5 separate regions of the Homo sapiens genome follow, and all the other regions are linked to region 1. The links are contacts of gene promoters, found by promoter capture Hi-C in human tissues and cell types (Jung and others, 2019). All regions are on one chromosome and are shown on one strand. The core of a region is centred on a gene start or on the middle of the fragment in contact, and the rest is flanking DNA. Distances in the headings are between cores, read along the strand shown.

Region 1 (3,126 bases), core at 451-2,950:
CACCGTGCCCAGCCACTTTTATTTATTTTGAGATGGAGTCTCACTCTGTTGCCCAGGCTGGAGTACAGTGGCACAATCTCCACTCCCTGTAGCCTCCGCCTCCCGGGTTCAACCAATTCCCCCGCCTCAGCCTCCCAAGTAGCTGAAATTCAGGTGCTGGCCACCACGCCCAGCTAATTTTTGTATTTTTAGTAGACAGGGTTTCGCCATGTTGGCCAGGCTGGTCTTAAACTCCTGACCTCAGGTGATCTGCCTGCCTCAGCCTCCCAAAGTGCTGGGATTACAGGCGTGAGCCACCGCGCCTGGCCATGCAGCATTTTATTTATCCATGCATCAGTGGATCGATGTTTTCAGCATTTTCTCCTTTTGGGCGATAGTGAATCATGCTGCCGTGAACTTGCTTATATTTAAATGTCTATTTTCACAAAATAGTACCAGTGAGCTTGTTCATCTGTTTATGTCTTTATTGACCAAATAAATAGCCATGGTGCAAAATCTCTGTGGTCACTACTGTGTTCCCAGCATGTCCTGTAGATGAAGCCGGACAATGTGTGCGATGAGGAATCATTGCTGGGGATGCTGCTTTCTACAGCAGAACTCTAAGTAGCAGGTGAAAACAATGAGCGAGGCCCGTGGTAACAATGTCTACGTTTTATTGAATTTTGAAATTGATTGCATGAGTCATTTCTAGTTCCCTGCACCATGAGCCTTGTCAATCTCTCTAATCCCTGAACCCACGTGGGTCCTGCCATGGGGAAATGAGGACAGCCAGGTGTCTGACAGAGAAGACGCATCTCTGAGGGATCCGATCTCTGTAGACCAAGGTCATGGGTCCCCTGTATCATCAGCAGTAGGTTCATTCACTCACAAGGGCAGACCAGCAGCGGTCCATGGGCACGTCCATCAGACCTGTGCCCCCTCCTGATACAGGTCTATGCAGCTTGGAGAGGCTGGGCTCATGTGAACCCAGCACACGAGCCCCGTATATAAACTGGAATAAACCAGCACTGAGGTCATTTACTCTCCAGGAGAAACCAACAGAGGTCTATGTGAATGCCTATCAGAACTTCACCCCATAGGCAAATCCACTACAGAAACCAAACCATTATCAGCAGGGCCAATGTGTACTAAGCTCTGCTTACACCTATAGGCACCTAGGGAGCAATTTTTGGAATGGATAGTAGGGGCCAGAGTGGCCTTGAGGTACCAAAGAGGAGGTTGCAAGGTCATCCAGGAAGGAGGGATAGTGGCTGGACAAGGCAGGCAGCCCAGGAGCCAGGAGGAGTGGGTAGACTCACCGGCATTGGTCACTCGGGGCCCCAGCCCTGGGAAGGAACAAGGATGACTCCTGGGGGCTGGCTGGCGGTGCCTCTCCTGAGATGGGGACCCCAACCACAGGTCACGATGTTGACTCCCCCAACCAAACCCGCATGGAATGCCACCTCACCTGGGCTAGGGCCCATGAGGGTGAAACCAAGGCTGTGTTGTCCACTGAGGTTCTCCAGCTCCTAGCACAGCTCAGCAGGCAGTACCTGATCAGTGATGAAGGATTAATCCATCATTCAACTCCTCCAGGGGGCGGGACTGCAGGGCAGGGTGGGAAAGGGAGGGTCCCGGCAGGGTGGGCCAGGGTGGGCACAGCAGAGAAGTGATTTAAGAGCCAAGCCCTTGTCAGTACACACTTGTGTTTGGGAACAGATCAGGACTCAGGATGCAAGACCCTGGTCATCTCCAAGGTGAGCGGGGACAGAGGTGTGAGGGGTCTGGGCTGATCCTGTGGCTGAGGCTGCAGAGTGCAAATCTGGGCAGCCAGAGAAGGGCTGGGCCTGTGCGGGCGGCTTCCTGTCCTGCAGACGGGGGAGAACTTAGTGGTGTCTGGGAAATGAAAAATCATGCAGCTGGGTGTAGCGTCTCACGCCTGTGATCCCAGCTCTTTGGGAAGCCAAGGTGGGAGGATCACTTGAGCCCGGGACTCTGAAACCAGCCGAGCCAACATAGTGGAGACCCGTCTTTAGCAAAAATACAAAAATTACCCAGGGGTCGTGGTGCACACCTGTGGTCCCAGCTACTCGGGAGACTAAGGCGGGGGGTTCCTTGAGCCCAGGAAGTGGAGGCTGACTTGAGCCGTGATCACATCACTGCACTCCAGCCTGGGTGACAGAGCGAGATCCCCTCCAAGAAAAAGAAAGAAGGAAAGAAATTAAACCATGCAGTTGAGTGGAGCAGAGGACTGGGCAGGTGGCGGCTCCCCTGCAAGTGTCAGGGTCCCTATAACCCTTGGATGGGAGGGGACGGGGCAGCTGGGGAGGGTTGAGCAGGCCTGAGGCAGCCCCGTCTGCTCCGAGGTGAGGCGCCTACGCTGCCTGCCTTCCCAGGAGCTGTTATCGCGCCTATTTCCTAGATGTGGACCCTGAGGCCCAGAGAGGTGCAAGGTCTGGTCTGGATACCAGGCTGCTATCCGCGGTGCCGCCCCAGCCCACACTGCCTGGGCTCCTGGCCTGGTGCAGGGGACGGGGTCCCTAGGGGGGCTGGGGGCTGCCTGGGGGTTTCTGTGACCTGTTTCCCTCCCACCCCCAGGCCCTCCCCTGGCCCTGGACCCTCCAAGGAGACAGCGGCAGGAGCGCACGGTCTACACTGAAAGCCAGCAGAAAGTGCTAGAATTTTACTTTCAGAAGGACCAGTACCCGAACTACGACCAGCGACTGAATCTGGCGGAGATGCTCAGCCTCAGGGAGCAACAGCTGCAGGTCTGACCCCCACCCCCACCCTGCCCGCCCCAGTCACCCCAAGGAGCCTCCCCACCGCTGTCACTCACCGGGGCCTGGCCCGCCCGACCACCTCCCGCCCTGCCACGCAAGGGGTCCCGCCAGTGTAGACCAGGGCTGCATCCTGAGTCCTGTTCCAACTCTATGCTAGCCCAAACTCGCCCACATGATCGGCCCAGGCTGTCCCCCACGGGGTCTCCCGGTGCCCGGACCTCAGGCACCCGTGAGAACCCGCGGTCCCTCCCCTCGAACCCTCCCTGGCCCCCCGGGCACCTGGGCGGCAGACCCCGCTCCTCCCATCCCACCCCACCCTCCTCCCCCTACTTTTCCCTCCCTCTTCCCTCCATTCTCCAGGCCTTGG
Region 2 (3,414 bases), core at 290-2,789, 390 kb after region 1:
ACCCCCGCTCCAGCACCAGGCCTGGCCGCCACCTGCTCCCTCCCCCTGGGAACAGAAGGGTCCCAGGACTATTTAAGGGAGACAGCCAGGAAGAGAGAGAGAGAGAGAGAGAGAGAGAGAGAGAGTGTGTGTGTGTGTGTGTGTGTGTGTGTGTGAGAGAGAGAGAGAGAGAGCGAGAGACAGAGACGGACAGACAGACGGATGGACAGACAGAGGGAAAGACTGGAGGAAGAGCCTCAGAAAGCCGGAGCCTCCCCCCTGCTCCCTCCGTCCCCCGCCGGCATCCTCCATCCTCCCCCAATCAATTTCTCTCCCACACACTTATTTCTCCCTTCCCAACAGCTCGTCTCTTTCTTTAATTAGAAAGATTTATGCTTCAGAGTCCAAGCCCCCTGCTCTTGTTTTGGGGGTGGCAGGGACGACTCCAGGGTCTCTATTGGAGCTCCTGTCCCCCACTCCCTCCCCCTCCTGTCTGTCTCACTCTGTCTGCACCTCTCTCTCTCTCTCCTCCCACCCGCGTCTGTCTCTGTCTCTCTCTCTCTCTGAATCACACCGTCACTGGAGTTACCTCCCTCCCCACTCCAGTTAGGCCCCATCCCCATCCCAGGTGCCCCCTCCCTCCCTTCCTGCTCTGTCCACGCCCCCCACCACTGGCCGTCAGATGAGGCCGCACTTGCTCCTCTAGGTTTCAGAATCAGCCTGGGCTAAGGGGACCTTAGCATGCACCACCCCCCAAAAAAGCAAATAGAGCCAGAGACTCCTAACCCTTGCATCCCTCACCCCAAGTCTTGGCTGAGGGTGAGGTGGGGGTGGAGCAGACCAAAGGGCCTTGTGTCTTTAATTAAAAAGTGATTTAAATTAATTTTCTGCTCCAAAACCCCTATCTGGGGTGCGCCGGCCTTGAGGAAAGGCAAGGCCTCCAGACCCTTCCCCTCGGACTGCCTTAAACGGCCAGCCTCACCGCAGGACAGCCACGGGGGCAGAGCCCGCCGGCATGGGGACCCCCAGACTCAGCCAAGACCCTGAGTCCTGGCACCCTCTAGCTTAACTGTTTCTCCGTTATCCACAGCCCACCCCCGCCGCCCCCAGCGCACTGCCCATCCTGCAGAGGGGGAATCGAGCCTCAGAGAGGGGAGAGCCTACGGTGGGACCAGACTCCAGATTCCCACGTGACCCCTGGAGATGGCCAGGGAGGGGGTCCGTGGTGTGTCCAGGGGGCTCGGAGAACAGAGAGCCAGAGGAGAGAAAGGACGGGAGAAGCGGAGACAGAGAGAGACAAGGAGAGAGAGACTGGGAAAGAGGGAGACTGAGAAACCCGGAGCAGGAACCCCAGCCCTGGGTAGGAGAGGAGGGGCCTGGGGGCACCAGGGCCGCGGTCTCTTCCTCTCCTCCCCCCACAGCCTGCCCCTCCCCGACTCCCACCGGAAGTGCTGCTGCTGCCCTAACCCCAATCCCTCGTGCTGTAGCTCTGCAGGCTCACTCTGGCTCATCCCCTATCCCGCTCCTTGGTGGTTCTGTTTAATTTCCACAAGACAAGGGAGAGACCGGGAACGGGGAGCGCGGCTGCCAGCACCCCTGAGCCGCCGCCGGACCCTCCGTCGCCCCGGGCCGCCCCCCGCCCCCTGCGGTCCCCGGTGTGTCCGTCTCGGGACGGTTCGATTCCCTCCAGAGCCGGGGAAGGGACGGGGGGGGCCCAGAGGAGGGGGCCTCGGGCGCCCCGCCTGCGCCTGCTGCCCCCGCCCCGGCGGCGATGCGCTCCTGGCCGTGACCCCCGCTGGGGGCGGGGGCCGGGGTCCATGCGCGGAGTCCCCACCCGGCCCGGCGCCTGCCGCTGACGGCGGCGGGGGTGGGGGGGCGCGCGCCTGGCCTCCTGCCCACCCCCTGGCGTCAACACCGCGGGCCGTCAGGGGCTGCGGCCCCGGGCTGCGCCCTCCCCCGCGGCCAGGCTCTGGAGGGACCCAGGAGCTGCCGCCGGCCTCAGCCCATGGCCCGGAGGGTAGGTCTCGGGGCGGGGACCCCGCGTCCCGGCCGCTTCCGCACCCCCTGTCCCTGCATCCCCCACTCTCCGGCGCTGGCCCCCATTAGCCCATCCGTCCTCTACACCACCTCGCTCTCTCTCTGCCCCTCCCTCCGCCCCTGGGTCTCCCAGTCCCTGTGTGCCCCCTCTCTGCCCCCAAGTGTCTCTTCCTGGCCCTCGGCCTCGCCTCCTCCCCATCGTTTAGCTTCTCCTTCTCCCTGCCCCTCTGTCCCCCTCTGTCTGCCCCACTCTCCTCCTCCTTTCTGCCTCTCTGTCCCCCTCTCTCTGTCCCTGGTCTCCCCCCTCTTTCTGCCTCTCTATCCCCCTCTCTCTGCCCTCCCCCACCCGCAGTCTCTCTCCTCTGTTCCTGGGCTTCCTCCTCCATCTCAGCCGCCCGCACCTCACCGTCCCCCCTTTTTTCTGCTCTCCTCCGTCCTTCCCTTCGCTCTACTTTTGTTCCAAGCCGCCCCTGCCTCTCCAGGGCTAGGAGTGGGACAGGGGTGGGAGAGGTGGTCTCACCAGGCTGCTGGCCCCACGGAGCCTGTCTCCCTGGGGATGGGAACGGGGATAGAAGACAGGGGAGGAGGCGCGCGCCCGTTTTGGGGGTTCCGGGTAGGCTGTGAGGACCGCTTTTGGTGAGAGTGCCTTGAGCAGCGGGGAGCAGTTGGATTCAACTTCAGGGCACAGGAGAAGTTAGGAGAAGAGGGAGAGGGAAAGAGTGGGACACACAGAACCAGGGTGCCCAGCCAGGCGAGGGTCCGAGGCAGGAACGTTCTAGCCTCTTCCCGTGCGAGTCCTGCTGCCTCTTTGAGCCTCCGTGTCTTCATCACTGAGGAAGGGATTTGACCTGATGAGAGGAAGGTGCCCCTGGCTTCCCAGGTGCATGGTTCTGTGACGACAGGACGCGGTCGTCCTACCCCATAATGGTGTTTCTCTTGGGTGCGCAATCGTGTCTGTATGGTGGTGCGGAGTGACCCTCTCCGGCAACAAGTGCTCACAGCATGAGCCAGGCCCTGTGCTAAATGCCTCATTCATTCATTCATCCATGTGCCAAATGTCTCAATCATGCATTCATTCTTGTGCCTGGTGTTGGGCTGTGTGCATGTGTGTGTGCATGTGTGTGTGGGGGGGGGGATTTGGGTGTGACTGACACATGAGTGTGCACGTGGGTTGGTGTGTATGGCTGTGTCTACATGTGTGGTAGATTCACGTGGCGAGTGGAGTGTGACATGTTGTTGAGACTTACTCTGATGCGCTTATCTGCCAACTGTGAAATGAAATAGAAGACAGGGAGGCTTCGTATGTGTACTTTGTGTACAACAATGCGCGGTTCCTACAGGAGGTGTCCATGGATCTCCCTCTCTGTCTGTCTCTCTCTCTGTCTCTGTCACTGTCTT
Region 3 (3,018 bases), core at 217-2,716, 300 kb after region 1:
TTGCCCAGAAATATCCTATGTTTATATAAACATGTATGTTTCTATTATTTTCACTCTCTTTCTCTTTTTTTTTTTTTTTTTTTTTTTGAGACAAGGTCTGGCTCTGTCGTCGTCCAGGCTGGAGTTCAATGGTGTGATCTTGGCTTACTGCAACCTCTGCCTCCCAGGCTCAAGTGATCCTCCCACATCAGCCTCTCTAGTAGCTAGGACTACAGGCGTGCACCATCACACCCTGCTAATTTTTTGTATTTTTTGTAGAGTTGGGGTTTTGCCGTGTGGCCCAGGCTGGTCTCGAACTCTTGAGCTCAAGCAATCCGCCAACCTTGGCCTCCCAAAGTGTTGGGATTACAGGAGCCATGAACCACCACACCCAGCCCACCCTCTTTTTTTTTTAAACACAAATGGGAACATCTTATATCTACACTTTAAAATAGTGCTTCCCATTTCTTTGTATGGCTGTGTGATATATATGCCCAGTCCTGAGCTGGTAATGACACACTCCAGGGCTGCAAGGTCTTTATTGAGCAACCACAGAGTGCAAGGCACAGGATTAAGGCTGCCTCTGCGAAAGCAACACGATGTCTTAAACTGGGCTAGTCCCCCAGAATGCTTTGCAGTCTCCCGGGGAAAGGGGATTTGTAGCGCGCCTGGGACCCAGTGGGCCCCTAGTATCCCAGGCAGGAAGTAGAAGAGGCTGTCAGACCCTGGGGTTGTGGTGGGGTCAGGAACTCTTCGCCCCACTACCCCAGCAAGCACCCAGTATCTACCCCAGTACTCCCGGAGGGAGCTGGTCTGCCCGAAGTGAGTGTGCCATTGTATGCAGGGGCGGGGGCCACAGACTCAAGAGGCCTGGGGGAAGCTGGCTTCACAGGTGAAGGGTGAGGGGTAGGGGCACGTCTGTGCCCGGCACTGGAGCAGAATGCTTGCTTTCTCCTGGATAGCCGACTAGATTGTCTCCTTTTTTTCTTTCCTTTTTCCCCAGAGGCTCATCCAAAATAGAGGAAGCATGCGAAATCTACGCCAGAGCAGCAAACATGTTCAAAATGGCCAAAAACTGGAGTGGTATGTCATCTCCGCTAGAGCTCCTCCAAGGTGCTCTCCTCCTCCCTCAGCTTCCACTCACACAGGCCTGCCCGAGAGGTTGGCCTTGAGGGCCCTTTCTCTTTGTATGCCCTCTCCGGCATCGGAAAGCCACTGGCCTGCTCTCTTGTTTTGTGCCTGCTGGGTTACTTTATACTCTGGGTCATGGGGCCTTGGTGAAAGGACAGAGAGGATGGGAATAAATAGATTATTAGACCTAGATAAACCCATGTGGATTGATGAGCTCTTAGAGTCCTCCTTAAATTCAGAACTTCAGGTTTCCTGGTAACTTCCTTAGTGCTTCCATCAGTGTCTAAATTCTAGGCTGGGGGAGGATGTTCAGGTGATTCCAATAACAACGTGAATCATGGCTGCTGTTTGTTGAGTCCTAAGTGCTCATCATTTAATTGCGTTAGCACAGCAGCCCTAAGGGTCAGTCTATAAATATCCCTATTTTACAGATTTGGAAACTGAGGCTTGGCTTAGTCTCTTGCCCAGGATGCCAGAACTAGTAAGTGACAGAACCAAGATTCAGAAACCAAGGCTCTGACTGCAGAGCCTGAGTGTTTAACCTGCCCCAGTGAGGCAGGATAGCTTCACAGAGGAGAGGGGTGGGGAGGAGCCCCTTGGGCTCAGGGAGGCTGGAGATCTGTTTGGAGCTCCCTGCAGGCCCAAGAAGTCCAACAAGCCAGTGTGTTGAGCCCTTTCGAGGCTCATTTCATCATACATCTTTCATGTCACCAAGATTGAATTAAGGAAATACGGCAAGAGACCCAGTGTTTGAATGCAGGGAGGAACTTCTGACTGTGGAGGAGAGGGAACCTGGTGGTGGGACCATGGAGGCAGGGTGCAGAGGTGCACAATAAAATTGATTATCATCGTTTTTGAGAATGTTGTTGGTTTCCCCAAAATTCAAAGAGTTATTCCTGAGTTTTCACAAAATACGTTGTGAATAAAGCCAAATGTTTTTTGTATTTTTATGCTCCCAAACTTAGAAAATTCCTCTAGAGAAAAAAAGCTTATTTTTTAATTACATAGGTGTTGCTTTTCCCCTAAAATTTGTTACCTCTGCCCCCAAACTCTTCAAAGAAAAGCCCTAGGCCATTTCCCCCCGGTAATATCCCCTTTTCTTGAAATTTTTTTTTTTTTTTTTTTTTTTTTTTTTTTGAGACAGTCTTGCTCTGTTGCCAGGCTGGAGTGCAGTGGCGCGATCTTGGCTCACTGCAACCTCCGCCTCCCTGGTTCAAGTGATTCTCCTGCCTCAGCCTCTTGACTAGCTGGGATTACAGGCACGTGCCACTACGCCCAGCTTATTTTTGTATTTTTAGTAGAGACAGAGTTTTACCATGTTGTCCAGGATGGTCTCCATCTCCTGATCTCGTGATCCGCCCACCTCGGCCTCCCAAAGTGCTGGGATTACAGGCATGAGCCACCGCGCCTGGCCGTAATTTTATACTCAAATTTGGAACTCTTGAAAATAATGAAATCATATAGTGAAAACCCGGAAGGCTTTGTCTTTTCTGCTGCTCAAAACTTAAGAGGATAGGGCCAGGCCTCCTGGTCCTCTTCCAGCTTAGAAACTCTGACTCAGATTCAGCTGGAGGAGAATGAAGGGGAGAAGCCTCAGAGCTGAGCTGGAGGTGGTCAGCTGCACGAGGAGGAGGAGAGATGCTGCTGCCTCCCAAACGTCAGTTAGGAGATGTGTGGGCAGAATGGCTTGGGACCCACAGAAGCTGACCGTGTGCAGATGAGCACAGGATGGATGAGGCTTCAGGCACGGTCTCTTCTGCCCTCCGCCCATGGGCACTGGTCTGCATGTATTCATTCTTGCTGTCCACATCCTGTTTCCCTCTCTGGACATGCAGCTCCTGGAGGGAGCCGGCTCTGTGTTGTCCGACCCCAACTCCATGAGCCTCACAATTCATGCAAGTGCCTTGT
Region 4 (2,960 bases), core at 19-2,518, 330 kb after region 1:
ACGTCAAGTGATCTGCTCGCCTCAGCCTCCTAAAGTGCTGGGATTACAGGCGTGAGCCACCGCACCCAGCCTGCAAGTCTCTTCTTGACCTGACCCGTCCTCAGCCTGGGGAATTGTGCGGTGCAGCAGTTAAGGGTGTAGAATCTGGAGCCATATTTACCACCTCATGCCTTGGTTTCCCTGTCTGTAAGTGAAGCTCATAATAGCATTTACCTAAATTTATAAAAAACATTAGAACATGCCAGGTGCGGTGGCTCTCACCTGTGCGGTGGCTCTCACCTGTAATCTCAGCGCTTTGGGAGGCCGAGGCAGAAGGATTGCTTAAGCCCGGGAGTTGGAGACTAGCCTAGGTAAAATAGTGAGACCCCGTCTCTTAAAAAAAATGAAGAGAAAAAAAGCCTGGCGTGGTGGTGGTGGGCACCTGTAGTCCCAGCTACTCGGGAGGCCAAGGCAGAAGGATCGCTTGAGCCCAGGAGTTGGAGACCAGCCTGGGTAACATGGTGAGATCCCATCTCCTAAAAAAAAAAAATGGAGGGAAAAAGCCTGGCGTGGTGGTGGCGGGCACCTGTAGTCCCAGCTACTCAGGAGGCTGAGGCAGGAGGATTGCTTGAGCCCAGGAGGTTGAGGCTGCAGTAAGCCAAGATCGTGCCACTGCACTCCAGCCTGGGTGACAGAGTGAGACCCTGTCTCAAATAATAATAATGTGCTGCCGATGCCAGGCACGTGGTCAGGGCTGCCTGTATGTATGGCAGCTGTTGTTATTCTTATTAATGGGTGTCTTTGTGGTTGTTTCTGGCCTCCTTTGTGAGGCTGTGCAGGCACAGTATGTGAATTTGGATCTGACTCCAGCTAAACATTCTTGCCCTCCCCCTAGTTCTGTAAGTCTGTAACTATTTGTAGCTGTTGGCCCTTGTATGGCTGGGAGACTGCGTGCGTGTGTGTGTGTGCGTGTGTGTGTGTGTGTGTTGGGGGGCGGGGGCTGCTTCTGAAACACACAGGAGCGCCCTCCGGTGCTGTCCCCTGCCTCTGGTGCTGAACCCGGAGGCTGGGGAGGAGGCTCGGGCTCCCTGCTCCCCCAGGCCCCTCCCCGGGCCTCCCCCCGCCTCCCGCACCGCCTTCCCTCTGCCCGCCTCCGCCTCCTCCCCCTCTCTCCGGCTCCTCCCCCTCCCTCGCTCCCTCGCCGCCTCCCCCTCCCCCGTGTCCCTCCCCTCTCCTCTTCTCCTCCCTCTATCCCCTCTCCCTCCCCTCCTCCCCGGCTCTCCCTCTCAGTCTCAGGCTTTTCTCTCTCTCAATCTCTCTCTCTCTTTCGGGCGGAGTCGCCCACCACTGCCAGCCCAGCGCTGGGGGGACCTGCTCCAGGCTGTAGCCGCAGGTAAGAGACCCCATTGGTGGGGAGGTGGGGGCGTGGGAAAAGGACGGGGTTACCCCAGGTGCGGAGTGGGGGCGGTTCGGGAAGCCTGGAGCTGGCTTCCCTGGGCTGGTTTATGGAGGTGGGGGGCTGCCTGGCCCAGCACGCGTACCTTCTGTGGGGTGGGAGTGCCACCAGCCGCCCCAACACCTTCAGTCCCTCCTGGTTCTCGGGCGGCTGGGGAGGGGGACCGCCTGGGTACTGGGGGGCGAGGACACCCCGCCCCCACCCCGTCTGGGGCACCCCCCCTCGCGCTCTCTACCTCTGCCCCCGCCTTCCTGTGTCTGGGTCTCATCTTTCTGTCTCTCCACATGTCTCAGGGGTCTCTGTCTAGCAGAGTCTGGCCGCCTCTGGGAGTCCCTGTCTCTCAGTCTCTCACTCCTGTCTCCCTCTCTCTGTGTCTCTGTGCCGGGGTCTGTTCGGAGTCTCTCTGGGGCTCTGTCTCTAAGTCCTGGGTTTCTCTCTCCTTTCCTCTTGCGCCATCTCTGTTTCTCTGTGTCTCTGTGTCTCTGCCTCTCTCCCTTGTCTCAGCTTTCCTGTGTCTCTCTCTGTCTCTGCTTTCTCTGTGTCTCTGTCTCTTCCCATGTCCGCATGTCTCTCTCTCTCTCTCTCTCTCTCCCTCCCTCCCCATCTCCCCCTCGTCTCCATCTCTGTCTCTGGATATCTCAGTCTCTGTTTCTCTCTCTCTTTCCTCTTCTCTGGCTCTCCCTGGGAGCCAGTGCACCCTCCTCCCACACACCTTTGTCTCCGCCCCTGGCAGGGGGGACCTGGAGGAATTAGACCCCCCCACCCGCAGAGTGGGCTCCCCCAGGCCTGGAGTCCTCTAAACTCCTCTCCCCACTTCAGCAGAGCTCCCCTGCTCTCTCCACTCCTCCCAGCCGGCACCCACCCCAGCTCTCCCCTGAGGACCGAGCCCACCTCCCCCTGCCTTGTTTCTGGCGTTCTGAGGCCGGTCCTTCTTGCAGTTTAACCGGTAGCCTCTGTAGTAGAGATGAGACCAGACCTCCCTTCAATCTAACCTCCCCAGTCTTCCTCGTGTAACTGGACCAGTCCTTCCTGCCGTCTCACTTCCATACCTCTTGCTGTTTGTCCAGCTCTTGATTCATTCATTCTTGTTGATAATTACTGAGCGCCTTTCCTGCTCTGGGCAAGCACTAGGTACTGAGTTAGACCGGGCCAGTCCTTCCTGCAGTCTCACTTCCATCCCTTTCCTGGTGTGCCAGCCTCACACTGTCTCAGTGGGGGGTGCTGAGAGGGCCCTGGCCAACACACTGTCTGCCTTCCTTGAGAGAAGGGGGCCCTGGAGAAGGTGGGCAAGAGAGTGAGTGATGGCGAAAAGGTACGAGGCTGTGCCTGTAGCCCTGGTGTGTGTGTGTGTGTGTGTGTGTGTGTGTGTGTGTGTGTATGATGTCTCCCTGGCTGCAGGTGAGGTCCCAGCCCTGTGTGACAGTGCCCACGGAGGGGGCTTCAGATGGCTTTAAAGAGCACTAGGTTAAGAGCCCTGTTCCTCCTCTGGGCCTCAGTTTACGTATTATCAGTGTATCACAGCCTC
Region 5 (2,963 bases), core at 195-2,694, 400 kb before region 1:
CACCCTATGAAGGATTGGCCCGTGACCAATCAAGAGGCTGAAGTGGAGACTTCTGTCTTGTTATCACAGGAGTGAGGATGTGGCCTGGATGCTGCCCAATCTTGCCTAGAACTGGCTGCACCTGCTTGTGCCTTAACCCTTGGTTACCCTAAATCCCTGTTATCCAGACTCATTGGGACTGCTCTAGATCTTCACTATCCAATACGGTAGGCGCTTCCTGAAATGTGCTGAGTTTTATTTCATTATAATTAATGTAATGCACCCACATGTGGCTAGCTGCTACTGTTCTATTGAAATGCAACTATACAACTTCCCATAATGTTTCAAAACACCAAACTCTTCTGTAACTCCCCCAGTCTCCCAAAACATCTTATAAAAATCCTAGAACAACTGGCTGGGGGCGATGGCTCACGGCTGTAATCCCAGCACTCTGGGAGGCTGAGGCGGGTGGATCACTTGAGGTTAGGAGTTCGAGACCAGCCTGGCCAACGTGGTGAAACCTCGTCTCTACTGAAAATACAAAAATTAGCCAGGCATGGTGGCGCACACCCGTAATCCCAGCTACTTGGGAGGCTGAGGCAGGAGAATTGCTTGAACTCAGAAGGTGGAGGTTGCAGTGAGCCAAAATTGCACCACTGCACTCCAGCCTGGGTGACAGAGTGAGACTCTGTCTCAAAAAATAAAAATAAAAATCCTATAACAACTGCACAATGCTCAAACGGCCCAATTCCCTACCTTTCCTTTTATACCTTACTACTACTCTCTTGTTGCTCCCATCATGCCTCACTCCCTACTCACATTTCCCAGACGGAGGTTACATGTGATATGGCAGCTGAGAGCCCAGACTCTGGGGCCCGATTGTGTGGGTCCAAATTCTGGTTCTAACACCTCTGGCCAAGTTATTTAACCTCTCTGTGGTGCAGTTTCCTCATCTGTAAAATGGGGGTGTGACAGTAACGCTACCTCATAGGAATGTTGGGATGCCTCAACAGCACTCATGTAAAGCAGAGATGGGTACAAGTAGCTTTATTATATATTATCTGTTTAACAATTGTATATGGGCCAGGCGCAGTGGCTCACGCCTATAATCCCAGCACTTTGGGAGACTGAGGTGGGTGAATCTCTTGAGGTCAGGAGTTCAAGACCAGCCTGGCCAACATGGTGAAACCCCTTCTCTACTAAAATTACAAAAATTAGCCGGGCGTGGTGGTGCGCACCTGTAATCCCAGCTACTCGGGAGGCTGAGGCAGGAGAATCGCTTGAACCCGGGAAGCAGAGGTTGAAATGAGCAGAGATCATGCCACTGCACTCCAGCCTGGGCGACAGCGTAAGACTCCATCTCAAAAACAAGCAAACAATTGTATATGGCCGAAACTTTCCATAATAAAACGTTTTTAAAAATAAGAGTACTTAGCATAGTCTCTGGCACACAGTCAGTGCTGATCTTGGCGTTAGCTTCAACACTCCGACTTTTCCTGACTATCCCCAGCTCCTCCTACAACCCAATTACTCTATAATACCTGTTTCCCCTATAATAACCCACTCTTCACAAACACTTAAATTAACCATAATGAGAGCTGCCAAATAAAATACAGGATGCCCAGCTAAATTTGAATTTCAGATAAACAACAGAGAGTAACTACAATATTATGCATTTTCCGAAATTAGAATTTAACTGGCCATTGCTTTCCCCCTAAATCTGGTAACTCTATCACTAAATGCCTTTGCATACTGAGGAATCCTCAGTGCTTCCTAGAGGCTGCTACTGAGTTGGCCTTCTATAAATAACAACAGAATTAACTTATATAATACCTCAATTCCCTTATAAAACTTCCAGCTTCTCTTTACAGCGCCAGTTCTTCCCAATCGCCTCCCAGTCCCTCCCATAGAGGACAACAGTCCCCTTTTCTTATACCTCCCCTTCTCCATGAAACCCCAATTCCGTCTATAGTCACATCTGTCCTGTTTACCAGTACTGTCAACTGTGCCTGGCTTCCAGCAGGAGCTCTATAATAACTGCAGAATGGCAAAAGAGCTTAATACCCCAATTTTCCCTACTGCTTTGGGAGGCTGAGGCGGGCGGATCCTACTGCGTTTCCACTTCCCCTTGAGCATCCCAAGTATCTAGTAACTTGTCGATTTCAATGATCTCCCCAAATCTCCTTATTACATAGGAATTCACCAAAACACTCCCTGTCCTTGAAAACATCCCATTTCCCCTAATATCACCCCAACTCCCCTTACTGCAGACTGATTCCTCCGGCACACCCTCCATCCCTCCAGTTCCCAGGCTGTTAGTCTAATTTCTCCCGCGAGGTCTCTAATCCCCGTCTCCTTCCACTCCAGGGTTACTGTGGCAACGCCAACCTTTGAATCCCCCTCCTGCGCGCTGAGCGGCTCGTAACCATGGAGACCGAAGCAGGTTTCCCGCGTCCGCCTCCTCACCCAGAGACTGCAGCCCCGGCGCCCAGACCCTTTGGACAAGGAGATCCAAGCGGGCCCCACAATGCTCAGCGGGTAAAGAGCTCCTCCCCACTCCTCTCCCGCCAGCAGACGAAGGAAACACCCCGCAGCCTGCACATGCTCAGATGGAGCTCTGGGCCCGCGGGTTCTACTGCGCAGGCCCTCACACTCAGCAAAGGGACTTGGACGCGAAAGCGCTGGTGGCGCTCAGCCGGCTGGGAGTTGTAGCTTTCTGGCTGCTACAGCAGGAGATACAGGTGGCCAATGGGTGAGCTGGCTGGAGGTAGGAACAAGGTTAAGGAAGCTGGGATCTTCGTGCAGACTGGATCGTCACTATAGCAACAATGAAACATCGGGAAGGGCTAGTTCTGCTAGGCAGTCTGCCATTTTCATTCTTTCATCTTTTTTTTTAACTCAAAGCTTACTTTGCAACAGGCACTGTTCTAGGCACTGGGGATACAATGGAAAACAAAATAGAGCTTCTATTTTGGCGGGAGATC

Evidence for each region. The method cuts DNA at HindIII sites, captures the fragments that hold promoters and counts their contacts. A contact is called where the count stands out against the background at its distance.
Region 2: a contact is called between the fragment with the promoter of MEIS3 here and the fragment with the promoter of TPRX1 in region 1, in 2 of the 25 tissues and cell types used here (mesenchymal stem cells and spleen).
Region 3: a contact is called between a fragment that was not itself captured here and the fragment with the promoter of TPRX1 in region 1, in 1 of the 25 tissues and cell types used here (hippocampus).
Region 4: a contact is called between the fragment with the promoter of SLC8A2 here and the fragment with the promoter of TPRX1 in region 1, in 4 of the 25 tissues and cell types used here (heart left ventricle, lymphoblastoid cells, small bowel and 1 more).
Region 5: a contact is called between a fragment that was not itself captured here and the fragment with the promoter of TPRX1 in region 1, in 1 of the 25 tissues and cell types used here (dorsolateral prefrontal cortex).

The regions. Positions count from the first base shown.
Region 1 is chr19:47,803,125-47,806,250 of GRCh38, reverse strand. It overlaps TPRX1 (tetrapeptide repeat homeobox 1), which reads left to right and starts at 1,700. Exons shown (of 3, transcript NM_001397346.1): 1 at 1,700-1,736; 2 at 2,578-2,747. The coding sequence starts at 1,712. The HindIII fragment of the contact is 58,136 bases long and covers 1-3,126 here.
Region 2 is chr19:47,417,652-47,421,065 of GRCh38, reverse strand. MEIS3 (Meis homeobox 3) reads left to right here and starts at 1,539. Exons shown (of 13, transcript NM_001301059.2): 1 at 1,539-1,996. The coding sequence starts at 1,985. RefSeq lists enhancers at 1,459-2,452, 2,453-3,414. The HindIII fragment of the contact is 42,961 bases long and covers 1-3,414 here.
Region 3 is chr19:47,501,467-47,504,484 of GRCh38, reverse strand. It overlaps NAPA (NSF attachment protein alpha), which reads left to right. Exons shown (of 11, transcript NM_003827.4): 2 at 983-1,062. It overlaps NAPA-AS1 (NAPA antisense RNA 1), which reads right to left. Exons shown (of 4, transcript NR_038452.1): 4 at 2,888-3,018. Among named protein-coding and RNA genes, the nearest start is that of NAPA, 12 kb to the left of the region's middle. The HindIII fragment of the contact is 4,210 bases long and covers 1-3,018 here.
Region 4 is chr19:47,470,201-47,473,160 of GRCh38, reverse strand. It overlaps SLC8A2 (solute carrier family 8 member A2), which reads left to right and starts at 1,268. Exons shown (of 10, transcript NM_015063.3): 1 at 1,268-1,372. The HindIII fragment of the contact is 16,110 bases long and covers 1-2,960 here.
Region 5 is chr19:48,203,627-48,206,589 of GRCh38, reverse strand. LOC124904734 (a long non-coding RNA gene) reads right to left here and starts at 2,429. Exons shown (of 2, transcript XR_007067282.1): 1 at 2,368-2,429. It also overlaps a transcript of CARD8 not described here. RefSeq lists an enhancer at 2,331-2,500. The HindIII fragment of the contact is 4,690 bases long and covers 1-2,963 here.